Linked DNA regions of Homo sapiens: regions 1 and 3 are each linked to region 2. Evidence: promoter capture Hi-C in 16 types of primary human blood cells and fetal thymus (Javierre and others, 2016). All regions are on one chromosome and are shown on one strand. Each heading gives the region's core, a stretch centred on a gene start or on the middle of the fragment in contact. The rest is flanking DNA. Distances are from core to core; before and after follow the strand shown. Region 1 overlaps SNX10 (sorting nexin 10). Region 2 holds the start of JAZF1-AS1 (JAZF1 antisense RNA 1). Region 3 holds the start of HOXA9 (homeobox A9).

The links. Contacts are between HindIII fragments. The CHiCAGO score rates a contact against its expected background, and 5 or more counts as called.
Region 1: a fragment that was not itself captured here is called in contact with the fragment with the promoter of JAZF1-AS1 in region 2 in 3 of 17 cell types (non-activated CD4 T cells, activated CD4 T cells and total CD4 T cells); the score reaches 6.5 in non-activated CD4 T cells.
Region 3: a fragment that was not itself captured here is called in contact with the fragment with the promoter of JAZF1-AS1 in region 2 in 4 of 17 cell types (activated CD4 T cells, non-activated CD4 T cells, naive CD4 T cells and 1 more); the score reaches 9.3 in activated CD4 T cells.

Annotation. Positions count from the first base shown.
Region 1 is chr7:26,373,427-26,377,839 of GRCh38, reverse strand. SNX10 (sorting nexin 10) reads right to left here. Exons shown (of 7, transcript NM_013322.3): 7 at 3,457-4,413. All of the region lies in intron 1 of SNX10-AS1 (SNX10 antisense RNA 1), which reads left to right. Among named protein-coding and RNA genes, the nearest start is that of LINC02981, 23 kb to the left of the region's middle. RefSeq lists a silencer at 951-1,160. The HindIII fragment of the contact is 715 bases long and covers 2,521-3,235 here.
Region 2 is chr7:28,177,752-28,182,251 of GRCh38, reverse strand. It overlaps JAZF1-AS1 (JAZF1 antisense RNA 1), which reads right to left and starts at 1,795. Exons shown (of 4, transcript NR_034097.1): 1 at 1,713-1,795. It overlaps JAZF1 (JAZF zinc finger 1), which reads left to right and starts at 1,457. Exons shown (of 5, transcript NM_175061.4): 1 at 1,457-1,789. The coding sequence starts at 1,675. RefSeq lists a silencer at 2,263-2,382 and enhancers at 2,237-2,736, 2,737-3,238. The HindIII fragment of the contact is 6,606 bases long and covers 996-4,500 here.
Region 3 is chr7:27,161,826-27,166,932 of GRCh38, reverse strand. It overlaps HOXA10-HOXA9 (HOXA10-HOXA9 readthrough), which reads left to right. Exons shown (of 3, transcript NM_001433944.1): 2 at 1,966-2,055; 3 at 3,092-4,495. The coding sequence ends at 3,330. It overlaps HOXA9 (homeobox A9), which reads left to right and starts at 1,396. Exons shown (of 2, transcript NM_152739.4): 1 at 1,396-2,055; 2 at 3,092-4,495. The coding sequence starts at 1,476. The coding sequence ends at 3,330. RefSeq lists enhancers at 1-257, 1,106-1,982, 1,983-2,860, 4,372-4,871. The HindIII fragment of the contact is 621 bases long and covers 3,547-4,167 here.

The DNA.
Region 1 (4,413 bases), core at 1,629-4,128, 1.8 Mb after region 2:
AAGATCTAAGATTCTTGTCTTTATGAAAGGATTAAAATAGGATTCTCTACATAGCCGGCTTCTCTTGTCTACCAGTAAAAATATGGGGTATCTTAAACCGTGCTGATCTAATCATCTTTCAGAAGCGTGTGCATATTATATTTGCATAGGCCTTTGCCTTAAAAAAAAAACAAAGGTATTCCAGATGGCTTTGCTATTTGTATTTGTCACTGTAACACACCTACAGAGAGTGGTCTGATTGAGGACCTCATAATCATCCAGGCCAAATCTTTTCCTTTTTATAACATCACAATGTGCCTGGAATCACAGCTAGTTAAAACTCGACCTGGATGTGTGACCTCCAGATTCCTAGCGTGGTCCCTCCACCCCATTACATGTCTCTGGACTTGTATGCACGTAGCTGCTGGGTACCGAATGAGACCGGTTCTGGTTGTGTTTCCTGAACCATCTTATTGCAGGCTAGGGGTTCTGCGAATACACGAGCGACCAAATGATGCTCTTAAGTACAACCGACACCTACGTAGGGAACAGGTTCTTTCTACTTGGGAGCCCTAACACCACTCCACTACGCGGGCAGCTCGCCAGACCCAACCAAGGGCGCGTTCTGCAGTGGGCGGCTGCAGCCTCCGCACTGGCCCGGCAGCGCCCCCTTCTGTCCTCCGGCGGCCTGGCACCTGATGTGTCACAGGCCGCGCGCTTTTTCCGGGTACTAGAACACAGTCCCGCTTACAGGGCCTCAGCCTAAAGCGGGTGGAAAACTTGTATCACCCCCCTACACACACACACACACACACACACACACACACACACACACACACACAGCCCAGTCCTACCACCAGGCGCGACCGTCCCCTCCCTCTCCAGACGGAAGGGGCCAGGTTAACGCAGCCGCGCGCCCGCCGGGCAGGTTAGGTTCTCGGGGGCCTAGAAGGGAAAGGGGTTAACTAATGTGTGCGATGCGTGTGCAGATGACAAAATTTAGGGCACGTAGAGTTTGCCCGGCCCCACCGCGTCCGCTCGCGGGGACCCTCGGGGGCCGGGCCCCATGGGGCCGGGGCAGCACGGTGTAGCCCCTCCTCCGGCCGGGCGCGAGCGTCTGCAGAACAAAGCCTGGAGTCCAGCCCCGGCCCCGGCGCGGCCGCCCCTCAACCAACCCCCAGGCGGCAAGGCCCTCTCCACGCGCGCTCTCCAGCCTGGCGGGGCCCTGGAAGCCGGGACACGCGGAGGCCGGGAGGGTCATCGGCGTTTAAGGCAGCCTCCCACACCAAGTGCACCGCCCGGATCCCCTCTGCACGAGGGCTTTCTGCTTATTGCTCTTTTCCCCAGCAGCCAGAATCGTCACCGTAGCGCGGGAAGGGGCCTCGCGGGCCGTCTGCAGCAGGTGCGGCCGGGAGCCGCAGGCCCGCGCGGTAAATCGCTGTCTCTTTGCGGTCGTTGTTCCCATTCACCGCCCGCCGCCCCCCGCCCCACCACGGTTCTTTTTTTTCTTTCCGCCGCGCAGTTGCCATGGGTTACCAGGGCGGTTGCCATGGGTTACCGGACCGAGGCCGGCTGGCTCGCTACCTGCAGCCCAGTCGCCGCCGCCAGCGGAGCGGCCCGGGCGGGACGCGGCGGGAGCGCGCGTGTGCGGGACGCAGCGCGGGGGATGCGCGCGGGCCGCGGAGGCGCCGCAACCAACAGGCGGCCGAGGGTGCAGCCGCGGGAGCGCCACCGCCAGTGGGGTGGGGGGCAAAGCTATAAAGAAGGCCCAGAGGTAAGAAACTAGCAAAAACACAACCACAAGTTATGCCCGTGCTGTGCCTCTAGCAGCAAAGACAAGCGGTGTGGGGTTGGATGAATCTACACTTCTCGTCGGGGGAGAAAGGGTATTTTCCTCTTTAGCATAAGCCATTTACATAGTGTCTTTAGACCAGAGTTTAAATTCAGCAGGAAATTGTAGCTTAATGGTTTTTTTTCTCTTTTCCTCTATATCTTTTGAAAAGAAGTCTTTGGAATTTTGGAGAAAGAGAAAGGGTCATTAACTACCAGAGTTTGCGCAGCTAAAATAAATTAGTGTCCAATGCACTGCTCATGATCTAGAAAAGTTTGCAGTAGGAGTGAAGCGCAATTGTGTCTGCTAAAAAGGGACAATGGTGACTCGTTTGTAAGATGCATATGGCAAAGAATAGAACCAAAGTCCTTTGTATATATAGCAAATGTTAAAGAAATTGTTGCTTATTTACATCCTTCTGAAATTTTTGAACTCCACTCTATTAAAATTATTAATTTCTTATGACCTTTATTTGCAAAGAAAATTCTATGCTTTGAATGTCAAATTGCAGTAACTAATTTCAGACAGTATTTTGTATTTGAAAATGTGTTTATATATAATAAACTAAGAAAAGGTCTATATTCCAAACAAAAACACAAAATTGTACTGAAATTGTTTCCTTCATTGAAAAGATGTTGCCTTGTATTCACAGGATACCAGCTAAGTAATTTAAATATTAAGAGGAAGACTATTTAGAAACAGAATAAGCTTTGTTATTTTCGTTTAAAATGTTAAGGGGCCTCTAATGAAAAGGGGTTGTCTTTTATAGCTCAAATACTGAAAACCTTATTGGTATCACAGTAGCTCAATAATAATGAATCCTTAAGGCATCCAACAAATACAAACCAAATTCAAAACAACGTCCAGTTTACTGTTGGATATAACGGTTATTGTGGCCAGGCTAAATGAAGTTGTTTAACTTCTTAATTGTCATAAAAGAAACTTTGTTCTTTTACTTTATACTGCATATCACTTGTTTGTATTTAATTATTCAATAAAATGTGGACTAGGTTTGAAAAACTGGCAAGATACTTCATATCTTAAGGAATAGTATCTGCTTAAAAATAAATACTTGTTTGTCCCTAGTAATTTTTAAAACTTGAAATTTTAACTAGAATTAAGTAACTTTCTTCTAAGTGAGACTTTATAAGAAGCCGAAGTAACAGGTTGTTGACGTTCAGTGCTGTTGACACCTTTGGGTTATATATAAATCTAGTTCTACAACAAAACACGTAAGTTGGCTTTATAGGTGAATAGTTTACCCTTTAAGAATCAGCCAGGGAAAATGCAGTTTTGCTGTATTGTAATCATAAAGAATCCAGGATTAGAATTCTTTACATTTAAGTCACATTAAAAATAGTGTTAAATAAACATCTATTCAAGTTAGCTACATCAGTAATTATTTTCTTTTTCCTAAAGAAAGCTTTATAAAAAATATGCCAGAGAAAAATAAGAGACAAAGCAAGAAAACCACTGGGAACTGAAGTTCATCTAAATATCTCAGCTGCAAGAAATCAGTTTTAAGAAGCCAGTGTGTGGACATTGAAACAACTAAACCAAGGCTAAAAGCCTCAAATATGTACAACTATAGCTAATATTAAACCATGTTTTACCAAATTTCCTCATAAAAAATAAAAAACACTGAGTTTGGGTCTAAGGCAGAATATATTCTCTTGTATAAAATAAGTGATCCGGCAAAGTTGATTTTTTTTCACGTTTAATGTAAAAATGATCTCGTGACATTTACATACTAAGTATTAGGCATTACATAATATTAATTTTGATGGCTATGTTACATCATCTAAAAATAATATGACAATTGGTGGCATAGTATGTGTTTTTCAAAACTGCTGTAAAACAGAAATAGTGTGAACTCAAATACATATTGCTGAAGGGATGAGGATCGCTCTTAAATGCCTGGATGGCATGAACTTTACATATTAGCATGGTAAGAAATTACTAAATCTTTTCTTTTCCTGTATTAAAATAATGAGGATCTAAGACACATTAAATCAAAATATTTACAAAAATTTAATAATGTTTTAGACCAAAGAAAAAAAGGACAAATTAAAGAAATCATTCTTATTCTAAATTTAATTTTTTTAATGTTAGTTCTCAGTTTTCTTAGCTTTTTTTTCTGTTGGTTCTTTGAAACAAGCATTGTAAAGACTTTTTAATAATACAATAGCTTTTAAACTCTTAGTGAAAATGAAAAGGTTGCTTTTTGTAGTAGCCTCTGCCACTCTTCAATTAGGCTGGGTAACAAAGCAACAAGTTATCCTAGTTATCTGAAAATATCTTCCTGTTAGTTTCACAGAAATATTTTGTACCATTCAACATGGATGAAACTTGGGTAATTATCTCAAGAAAATGTTGCCTCATCTGAAATCTGAACTTCAAAATAGTTTATCTAAGATATCTTTGGGACACTAAAAAAAAAGACATTTTATGAAAATTATACCAATCTTCAAGTAGATGCTTTAAAAGGGGCTTTTTAAAAATGAATAATTATTTCTGAAATTAGCAAGTCGACATCCTTTTCTAAATTATGGGAATATTTATTGGTAAAATTAAATTTATTAATCTTTATAAAATCCTTCCTC
Region 2 (4,500 bases), core at 546-3,045:
CCCCTGCCAACTCGGTCCCTGGCTCATTATCAGGCCCACCAGGGCCCTGCCCCCACCCTCATTGGGCCCATGAAACCATTCTTGGCACCAAACTGAACTTCAAGACACAGCTGCCCCAGCCCCACCCAAGCCGAATCTCATCTCAGCAAGTTTGTCACCTTGTGAGCTGCAAGACAGAAGAGATGAGAAGAGAAAATGCCACCGGTGATGGTCAGATCATAAAACTTCCTGTAGCAACAGACATATTACATGTGCCTTTACTCTAAGCACTTACATGAAAAGCAAACAATCCCATTATTAGAAATAACACTAGACAGAGATGCATAGAGTTTATGGAGGGAGGAATACTATTTCTCCATGCATCTGCACCAGAGGGTAAGTGAAATTTGCCCTAAGGAAAAATGCTAAATTCAGTATGCATATATTAATATTAATAAAAAAAATGTACTGTTGGGTCATAAACTGCTGATAATGTGTAATATTTCTTAGACACCTGGAAAAGTGCTACTGGAAAATACACACTTTACAGAAGAAATATGACTGCAACTGGAGGAGGGGGTGGGGACAAGAAAGTAATTGATTCTCAGCAAAATGCTGGTTTTCAGGGAAGCTACTAAATTCACCTTAAGTGGTTACCTGGTCAACATTATGCTTTAAATGCTCACAGGATGAAATCGCTTCCTTTTTAAATGAAGAGTCACTATGTCCCTTGCCGTTGTTTCCGCTCCTTCTAGCCTTAACCAATGCACTGTCCTTTCTGCAGTGGCTGAAACGAGGATGGGTTAATTACCAGACCTGAGATGGTGGAGTGGGTGCAGTAGGGTGCTGTAATTTCGGGTGATGAAATTATTTTAGTTTTTGTTTTCCTAGAAGGAGCAGGGAGTATAAAAAACGTGGCACATATGTAAAACACAGGCAAATGCACTTGACAACCAAGCACTCTATTTTGAAATTTAAATAAAGCTAAGATTTTTTTCTGGCCTAGAGGGAAAGCTTCATTAAAATCAATTAGTTAGTACAAACCTCCGGAGAATGTGTACTTTTTCTAAAGAAGGTTTAAAGAAGAAGGTGCACACAATTACCTTTCCTGGGTCCCCTGTGAATGTGTCACACCTAGACAGGTGGCTGAGTACAAAAAAATGTCCCTGAGAGGGACCAGGGTAACTCCCTGAGTTCTCCTCGCAGGGAGGTAGGTGTAATTAATCGATGTGGGTGTATTAAGAACGTCATATACATAACCAAGGAGGCTCCAAACAGATGGCACGGATGGCAAGCCGTAAAGGGCAGGCCTAGCGAGATAAAGTTGGTGGCAGGGCTCGCAGGTGAGGCCTGGGTCCGCGCGCTGAGGTTGGGGCCGCACAGCTGTAGCCGCGCGCCCTGGTCCCTCCTCCCAGCTGCGGCGGCCTTCCCCCCCCGCCCCCGCCCCCGCCCTCCCCCCGCCGCTCCCGACGCCGCCGCCGCAGCCGCCGCCTCCCCTCTGCCTCCCGGTGGCTCCTCGCTCTCCTTCCATCTCTCTCGCCCCCTCTCCCTCCGTCCCGTCCTCGCCGCTCCCCTCACCCCGCCTCTCTCCCCCTCCCCCAGCCCCTCCTCTCCTCACCCCACCCGGCCTCCCTCCCTCCCTCGCCCGCCCGGCGCTCGCAGAGCCGACACCAGGGGGGCTCTCGATGTAGCACCATGACAGGCATCGCCGCCGCCTCCTTCTTCTCCAATACCTGCCGATTCGGGGGCTGCGGACTCCACTTCCCCACCCTGGCCGACCTCATCGAGCACATCGAGGACAACCACATCGGTAAATGGCCCGGGGGTGGGCGGGGGTGCCAGGCGCGCGGAAACTCCTGCCCGGGCGGGGAGCCCCGGAATGGCCAGGGGTGGCCGGCGGGGAGGGAGGCGGCAGGGCGGGGAGGGCGCGTGCGAGCCCCGAGGTGGGGGTGGCGGGATGCGGGGGCGCGAGGTGCCGGGGGGCGGGGAGCGGGCTCGGGTGGGGGAGGGGGCGGGCGCCCCGAGGTGCCGCGGGCGGGCGGGCGGGCGGCTGGGGGACTCAGGGGCGTGCACGCGGGCTGCGAAGTGGTGGGAGCGGGGAGCGCCGCGGCGGGGCGGCGGGGTTGCGGCGGCGGGGCCGAGTGCCGGCGCGCGGGGCGCGGGGCGGAGGGCGCGGCGGGCGGCGGGAGCTGGGCGCTGGGCAGGGTCGCGGAGTTAGTTGGCCCGGGTGGTCGGAGTAGCCCGAGGCGCTGAGGGCAGCGGGGGGCGGGCGCTGCACGCCGCCGGGCGCTTCCGCCCCGGCTCGAGCTGTCAGGGCTCGGCGGCGGCTGCAGCCGCGGGGAGGTGGAGCGGGGGGGCGGGGGTGGCTCCACCGCGGCAGCCATTCCGCTTCCTCCTCCCGCCGCCGCCGCCGCCACTGCGTCCTGTCAGCGCCGGTTGCTAGGTGTGGTGCGTCGGGAGGGGGCCGGGGCCGGCGGCCGCGGGCGGGGGCCGGGGAGCTTGCCCTCTCCCTGGGAGGCGGCCGAGGGGCCCGGGCGGGGCCGGGGACGCGGGCCCGGGGGCTCTGGGTGCCCTCCCCTGCCCCGGCCTGGCGCGGACGCCCGGGCGCTGCGGGCTGAGGTCTTGGGTGCGCCCGCGGGCCGCGCCCAGCGCCCCGGGGTCGACGCGCCCTGGAGGCCCCTGCGGCGGCGCCCGCTGGAGAGACACCCCCAGGGCCCATGGCCGGGCATTTAAATGCACCCCGGCTCTGCGATTTGCCTTTCTAATGGTGCTAGGCCCGAGGTGCGCTGGCTGCGCCCTGGGATCGGCGGCGGCCTGCGCAGCGCCCCGGGCCCGGGAGACGCCGGGGAGGGGGCGCCCCGCAGGGTGGCTGCTTTCCCTTCACGCCTGGACCCCTGGACCTTTCAACAAGTCCTCTGATTTGCAGAAGTCATTGCACACATTTTCACACTTCTATTCGGAACCCCTGCTAAGGGAGGTGGGCCGGGTGCATCTGGCTTAGGCGGTCCAACCACCTGCGGAAGGTGTGACCGACGCCAGCGAGTTGTCCTGCGTGGGCTAGAAGGTGAAGGGTCCGAGCGATGTCCCAATGGGGCTGTCTAATCCAGAGAACCTGTAAATTGCCCCCAGGAAGTCCAAATGAATGCCATGGATTCAGCCATGTGGATGCAGCTCACGTTTCTACAAAGTTGAGAGAATAAATCACGACTGCTGTGTATTTATGCAGGAATAAAATGAGGCAGAACCCTATGCTCCTTTGCTTAGTATAGTGCTGTCTCTGCACACAGTGGCTGCTTAATAAGTGTTGAATGCCTGTTTAGAATGTGATTTGATGGGCCATCCGGAATAGGAGATAATCATGGGAAACGTCTACAAAATGTCTTTCAGAGGAAAATGCTGTTGAGTAATTGTCCAGGTTTTGAAACTTTTCAAGTTTTCAGGCGTCCTTGTAATAGCTTCTTCCATTTCCTCTGCTAAAGGTATGACAGAAGAGCTGGGCAAGTTTTGGTAGTCTTAAAAGCAGTTTAATGGAGCAACCAATTTGCTGATTCATATCATGATTGAATAGTCATAACTGAAAGTGCTTGAAAGTATTAAATCAGATTTTTCATGATGGCTAGTTTAAAATAAAGCGAAAACACCGGTACTGTGAAGTTCTGGTAGAAATGTTACTAGTTCAAGTTCTTCCCCTTACTCCCAATAATAAGTAAAAAATAAATATAGATAATGCTATACATTAATATGTATGATATAAGTAATATAAATAAATAATTTCTCTTGACTTACAGAAGGCTGTCATTGCATATCCCATCCATTCTCGCTAACAGTTATTTCAGAATAAACTATAATTTATATAAGCTGAGTAATAATTTTACCCCATTGCCTACCTACTTAGACAAGCTGGTTAAAAGACAGTATAAATTATATTTATTAAAATGTGTTAAAGACAGTTATCCTTCTTGAGGATTTAGTTTGAGATGGTTTAAAACTTGGTGAATCATGAGGTTTTTTTTTTAAGTGTAGAAATTGTCTTAATATTTTGCACACATTTTTAAAGAAGGTTAAGAGTTTGATACGTTTTCTAAAACTCAGCTTTGAAGTAATGCTACCTCATTCCCAGAAGGCTAGTGTTGTCCTTTTAATAGTGAAAATGTGGAAAAATTAAGTTTACAGCAATAGCAGTGACCTAGGTGAACTGTGTTGCAGGGCTAACACAGTTGAAAACAGTTTGAACCAGCAAACTTTATGAAAAGCAAATGTTAAAATGAACAAACACTTGCAATTCCCAGGATGAAGAGGCTCAAACTATTATACACTTCTGCTGGGGAGAGGCCCTTTACTATCAAAGGCAGCCCTATATGCAGAAAGAAGAACTGATCTTAAGAAGAATAAAAATATCCCAATTAGTAGATAGTGTCATATAAATACACTTCTGATGAAAAGACATGGGTGAAAATATAAAGCATTTAGTCAAAGTTCTAGACAGGTATTGTTATGTGGTATTTATCGTTTTTGATTCAA
Region 3 (5,107 bases), core at 2,608-5,107, 1.0 Mb after region 2:
TGGAGTCGATGCCCTTTTACCCCTCCCCGTTCTAATTTCCAGCCCTGGCCTTGAGCTGTGGCTGCCTCTCTTTGGGCCTTGTACCTCTCCGCCGAGTCTCCGGGCCCCGTAGGTAACCAAGGCGAGGCCCGGAGTAGCAGCTGGAAAGGGAGGAAGGAGCCCTGAAAGGCTCACGCGGCCCCGGGACAGGCCACATCGGTGCGGGCCTCCCAGGTTCCGGAGCTGCGGGGTCTCTTAGGCGAGGCTGCCTTTTCCCAAACCGAACTTGCCTTCCATTCATGCCACTTGTAGTTTTTTCCCCAGCTGGGATTCACGGAGCGCAACCAGGCTTGCAGCGCTCATGGTTAGAGCCTCTGAGGCTGGAGCACAGGGCTGGGTCGCCAGCCGCCTGCGCCTGGGAATCCTGATTGCCAGCTGATGAGAAAGGCGGGCTGGGCGCGCGTGTGCGTGGGGTCGAGGGCCGGGGACCGAGCGCGCCGCACAACCAACCAGGCCCTCAAAACCTTCGCCCTGGTGGCGGCTGGCCGCTCCCTCCTGGCCAGCTCCTCCGTGGGGTCCTCGTAGCAAAGGCGAATTTAAGGGTTGCCCGGGCGCCCCTCGCTCCAGGCGGGTAGCTGTGGGGACCTACACCCGCGGTACTCCCTGAGCGGCCGGTCCCTGCCTGGAGTGCCCTGGTAGGGCCGGCGGCGGCTCCGTTTGGGACGGATCCTGCGTTGAATTTGACTTTTCGAGGGCGGCCGCGGGTAAACTCGCCTCTCCCGGGGACCGCAGGGATTATTTACAGGGAGCTCGCCAACCAAACACAACAGTCTAACCTTTCCAAGTCCTCGTAAATTTTTACAGCTGGGAGCCACGGCGAGGCAAACGAATCTGTTGGTCGTTTCCGACTTCCCGCCAGCCTGTGTGGCTTCTGAAACAATAACTCCTTATGAAATATCATAAATATAGATTTAAATACAGTAGAGCGACAATGCGATTTGGCTGCTTTTTTATGGCTTCAATTATTGTCTAATTTTATGTGAGGGGCTCCGCTGGCCGCACTCGCACGCGGGACCCGCGCCTTCTTGATGGCGTGATTAATTGTGATATAAAATAGTCCGCTTAAGAAGTGTGTGTATGGGGGGGGAGACGGGAGAGTACAGAGACAAGGCTAGATTTGATCTTTTAATCGTCGTTGGCCACAATTAAAACAAACCCCATCGTAGAGCGGCACGATCCCTTTACATAAAAACATATGGCTTTTGCTATAAAAATTATGACTGCAAAACATCGGACCATTAATAGCGTGCGGAGTGATTTACGCGTTATTGTTCTGCTGGACGGGCACGTGACGCGCACGGCCAATGGGGGCGCGGGCGCCGGCAACTTATTAGGTGACTGTACTTCCCCCCCGGTGCCACCAAGTTGTTACATGAAATCTGCAGTTTCATAATTTCCGTGGGTCGGGCCGGGCGGGCCAGGCGCTGGGCACGGTGATGGCCACCACTGGGGCCCTGGGCAACTACTACGTGGACTCGTTCCTGCTGGGCGCCGACGCCGCGGATGAGCTGAGCGTTGGCCGCTATGCGCCGGGGACCCTGGGCCAGCCTCCCCGGCAGGCGGCGACGCTGGCCGAGCACCCCGACTTCAGCCCGTGCAGCTTCCAGTCCAAGGCGACGGTGTTTGGCGCCTCGTGGAACCCAGTGCACGCGGCGGGCGCCAACGCTGTACCCGCTGCGGTGTACCACCACCATCACCACCACCCCTACGTGCACCCCCAGGCGCCCGTGGCGGCGGCGGCGCCGGACGGCAGGTACATGCGCTCCTGGCTGGAGCCCACGCCCGGTGCGCTCTCCTTCGCGGGCTTGCCCTCCAGCCGGCCTTATGGCATTAAACCTGAACCGCTGTCGGCCAGAAGGGGTGACTGTCCCACGCTTGACACTCACACTTTGTCCCTGACTGACTATGCTTGTGGTTCTCCTCCAGTTGATAGAGAAAAACAACCCAGCGAAGGCGCCTTCTCTGAAAACAATGCTGAGAATGAGAGCGGCGGAGACAAGCCCCCCATCGATCCCAGTAAGTGTCTCCTCCCTTCAAATCCGCCGCCGCCTCCACGCCGGCCTCCCGGATCTGCTGGCCCGCCAGGTTTCTCTCGAGCCTGCCTTCGTCCTCGCTGGAAGCCTCTCGAGTTGGGGCCAGGAGCCAGAAGTTGGTGTTTGGGACGCCTCAGATAGGGCCCCAAGTCTGGAGAGCAGTGAAGAGCGGCCCGCAGGGCTACGGGAGAGGAGGCGGCTGCTGCAGCGAGAGGGGGCGGGGCGGGCACTTCGGGACGAGCCAAGACTGGCCGCCCCTCTCCTTGGCTGCCCAGGCCCAGGACCGAGATACTTTGGGCCGTTCTTCGAAAGCAGTGCAGCCCAGAGAGCCTTTTGTACAACTAGATTGTCCGTGAGCGGCGGCAGCCAGGGCAGCCGGAGCTGGGACGCTGGGGGAGACGGCCGATTCCTTCCACTTCTTGCCTTCGGCCAGTGGCGGCGTAAATCCTGCCAAGATGAGGCTGCGGGCGACCCGGGCCACAAGGGTCCCCATGACAGATTATTCAAATAAGCCACAGACGTGATCAGCGGCCTTAGGGCGCCCTGACGGCTTGCCCAGCTCCGAAGGCCTTCCAGGAAGGTTAAATAAGGAGTGGGGGGCGTAGAGGGACAGGTTGGGAAAGAAAGACGAAGTCAGTGAACGGGACAGAGGAATCCTAATCTTGCTACAGAACACAAGGCAGCATGCTTTCCCTCTGCGTGGCAAGGAGACCTGTTTCCAAATTTCATTCTATACAGCGTTTTGAGAGTGGGAGGAAGGAGAAGGGGGACAAGAGGACAGAGTAGGAGAAAGGAAGGTCTCGGAGGGGAGGGCGAGCCAAAGTTTTACTGCGTGCAATTTTAAGTGACTGTCTGTGCGTCTGTCTGCCAGGGTTCCATTGTGTCCGAGGCCTGACTGCCTTTCCTAACCAGTTCAGCAGAGTTCTGCACTTCGGCCAGAGACCCCATGCAGGAGGCTCATTTGCCCCAGCGGGATGTGCGTCTTCTGCTCCTAAACCCAGTGTTTCTCTTCCCCGCAGATAACCCAGCAGCCAACTGGCTTCATGCGCGCTCCACTCGGAAAAAGCGGTGCCCCTATACAAAACACCAGACCCTGGAACTGGAGAAAGAGTTTCTGTTCAACATGTACCTCACCAGGGACCGCAGGTACGAGGTGGCTCGACTGCTCAACCTCACCGAGAGGCAGGTCAAGATCTGGTTCCAGAACCGCAGGATGAAAATGAAGAAAATCAACAAAGACCGAGCAAAAGACGAGTGATGCCATTTGGGCTTATTTAGAAAAAAGGGTAAGCTAGAGAGAAAAAGAAAGAACTGTCCGTCCCCCTTCCGCCTTCTCCCTTCTCTCACCCCCACCCTAGCCTCCACCATCCCCGCACAAAGCGGCTCTAAACCTCAGGCCACATCTTTTCCAAGGCAAACCCTGTTCAGGCTGGCTCGTAGGCCTGCCGCTTTGATGGAGGAGGTATTGTAAGCTTTCCATTTTCTATAAGAAAAAGGAAAAGTTGAGGGGGGGGCATTAGTGCTGATAGCTGTGTGTGTTAGCTTGTATATATATTTTTAAAAATCTACCTGTTCCTGACTTAAAACAAAAGGAAAGAAACTACCTTTTTATAATGCACAACTGTTGATGGTAGGCTGTATAGTTTTTAGTCTGTGTAGTTAATTTAATTTGCAGTTTGTGCGGCAGATTGCTCTGCCAAGATACTTGAACACTGTGTTTTATTGTGGTAATTATGTTTTGTGATTCAAACTTCTGTGTACTGGGTGATGCACCCATTGTGATTGTGGAAGATAGAATTCAATTTGAACTCAGGTTGTTTATGAGGGGAAAAAAACAGTTGCATAGAGTATAGCTCTGTAGTGGAATATGTCTTCTGTATAACTAGGCTGTTAACCTATGATTGTAAAGTAGCTGTAAGAATTTCCCAGTGAAATAAAAAAAAATTTTAAGTGTTCTCGGGGATGCATAGATTCATCATTTTCTCCACCTTAAAAATGCGGGCATTTAAGTCTGTCCATTATCTATATAGTCCTGTCTTGTCTATTGTATATATAATCTATATGATTAAAGAAAATATGCATAATCAGACAAGCTTGAATATTGTTTTTGCACCAGACGAACAGTGAGGAAATTCGGAGCTATACATATGTGCAGAAGGTTACTACCTAGGGTTTATGCTTAATTTTAATTGGAGGAAATGAATGCTGATTGTAACGGAGTTAATTTTATTGATAATAAATTATACACTATGAAACCGCCATTGGGCTACTGTAGATTTGTATCCTTGATGAATCTGGGGTTTCCATCAGACTGAACTTACACTGTATATTTTGCAATAGTTACCTCAAGGCCTACTGACCAAATTGTTGTGTTGAGATGATATTTAACTTTTTGCCAAATAAAATATATTGATTCTTTTCTATTTTTTGCGGGTCTGCTCTTTGCACCTTCTTCTCTGGGTCAGGGGAGCCTATGTAGAGTCTCTGGGTAGGGGCGGGTTGGGGTGGTGAGAAAGAGCCCCAATTTTGCCTCTGGCTGGCTTTCAGGAGCGGGACCTGCCACAACCAGTCCGCCGAGCTAAGCTCTCCCAAACAGGCCAGCTGCCTGGCGGCGAGAAAAAGCTGGGAAACCCGGCGGAGGAGCCAGGCTCCCGGCCTTGTGTCTATGTGCGGGACGGCGGAGAAGCCCCTGAGGAGCTGGTCTGGTCTGGCCAGTAGCAGTGGAAAGACCACTCTCACCTTGGTGCCCCCGAGAAAATTCCCAAACCTGGGCCTTCGTTAGCTTGGTGAGGAAAAGGGGGAGAGGGTGACAGGATAGAGAGCTGGGAGCCGCCTTCTAAGCAGGCTCTGAAGAGGGAAATAGGAGCCCCACCGGCCCAACGTGGCCATGCAGGCAAACATTTTGGGGGCTTGCAAAGGAACAAAGCCCTGCATCCTCGCACCGCCCGCCACCCCCGCGGAGTCCTGCCAGCCTGGCCCAAGAGAATCTGGGTCCTGCACTGCAAGCACCTCTCGAGCACAAGGCCTAACAGAGG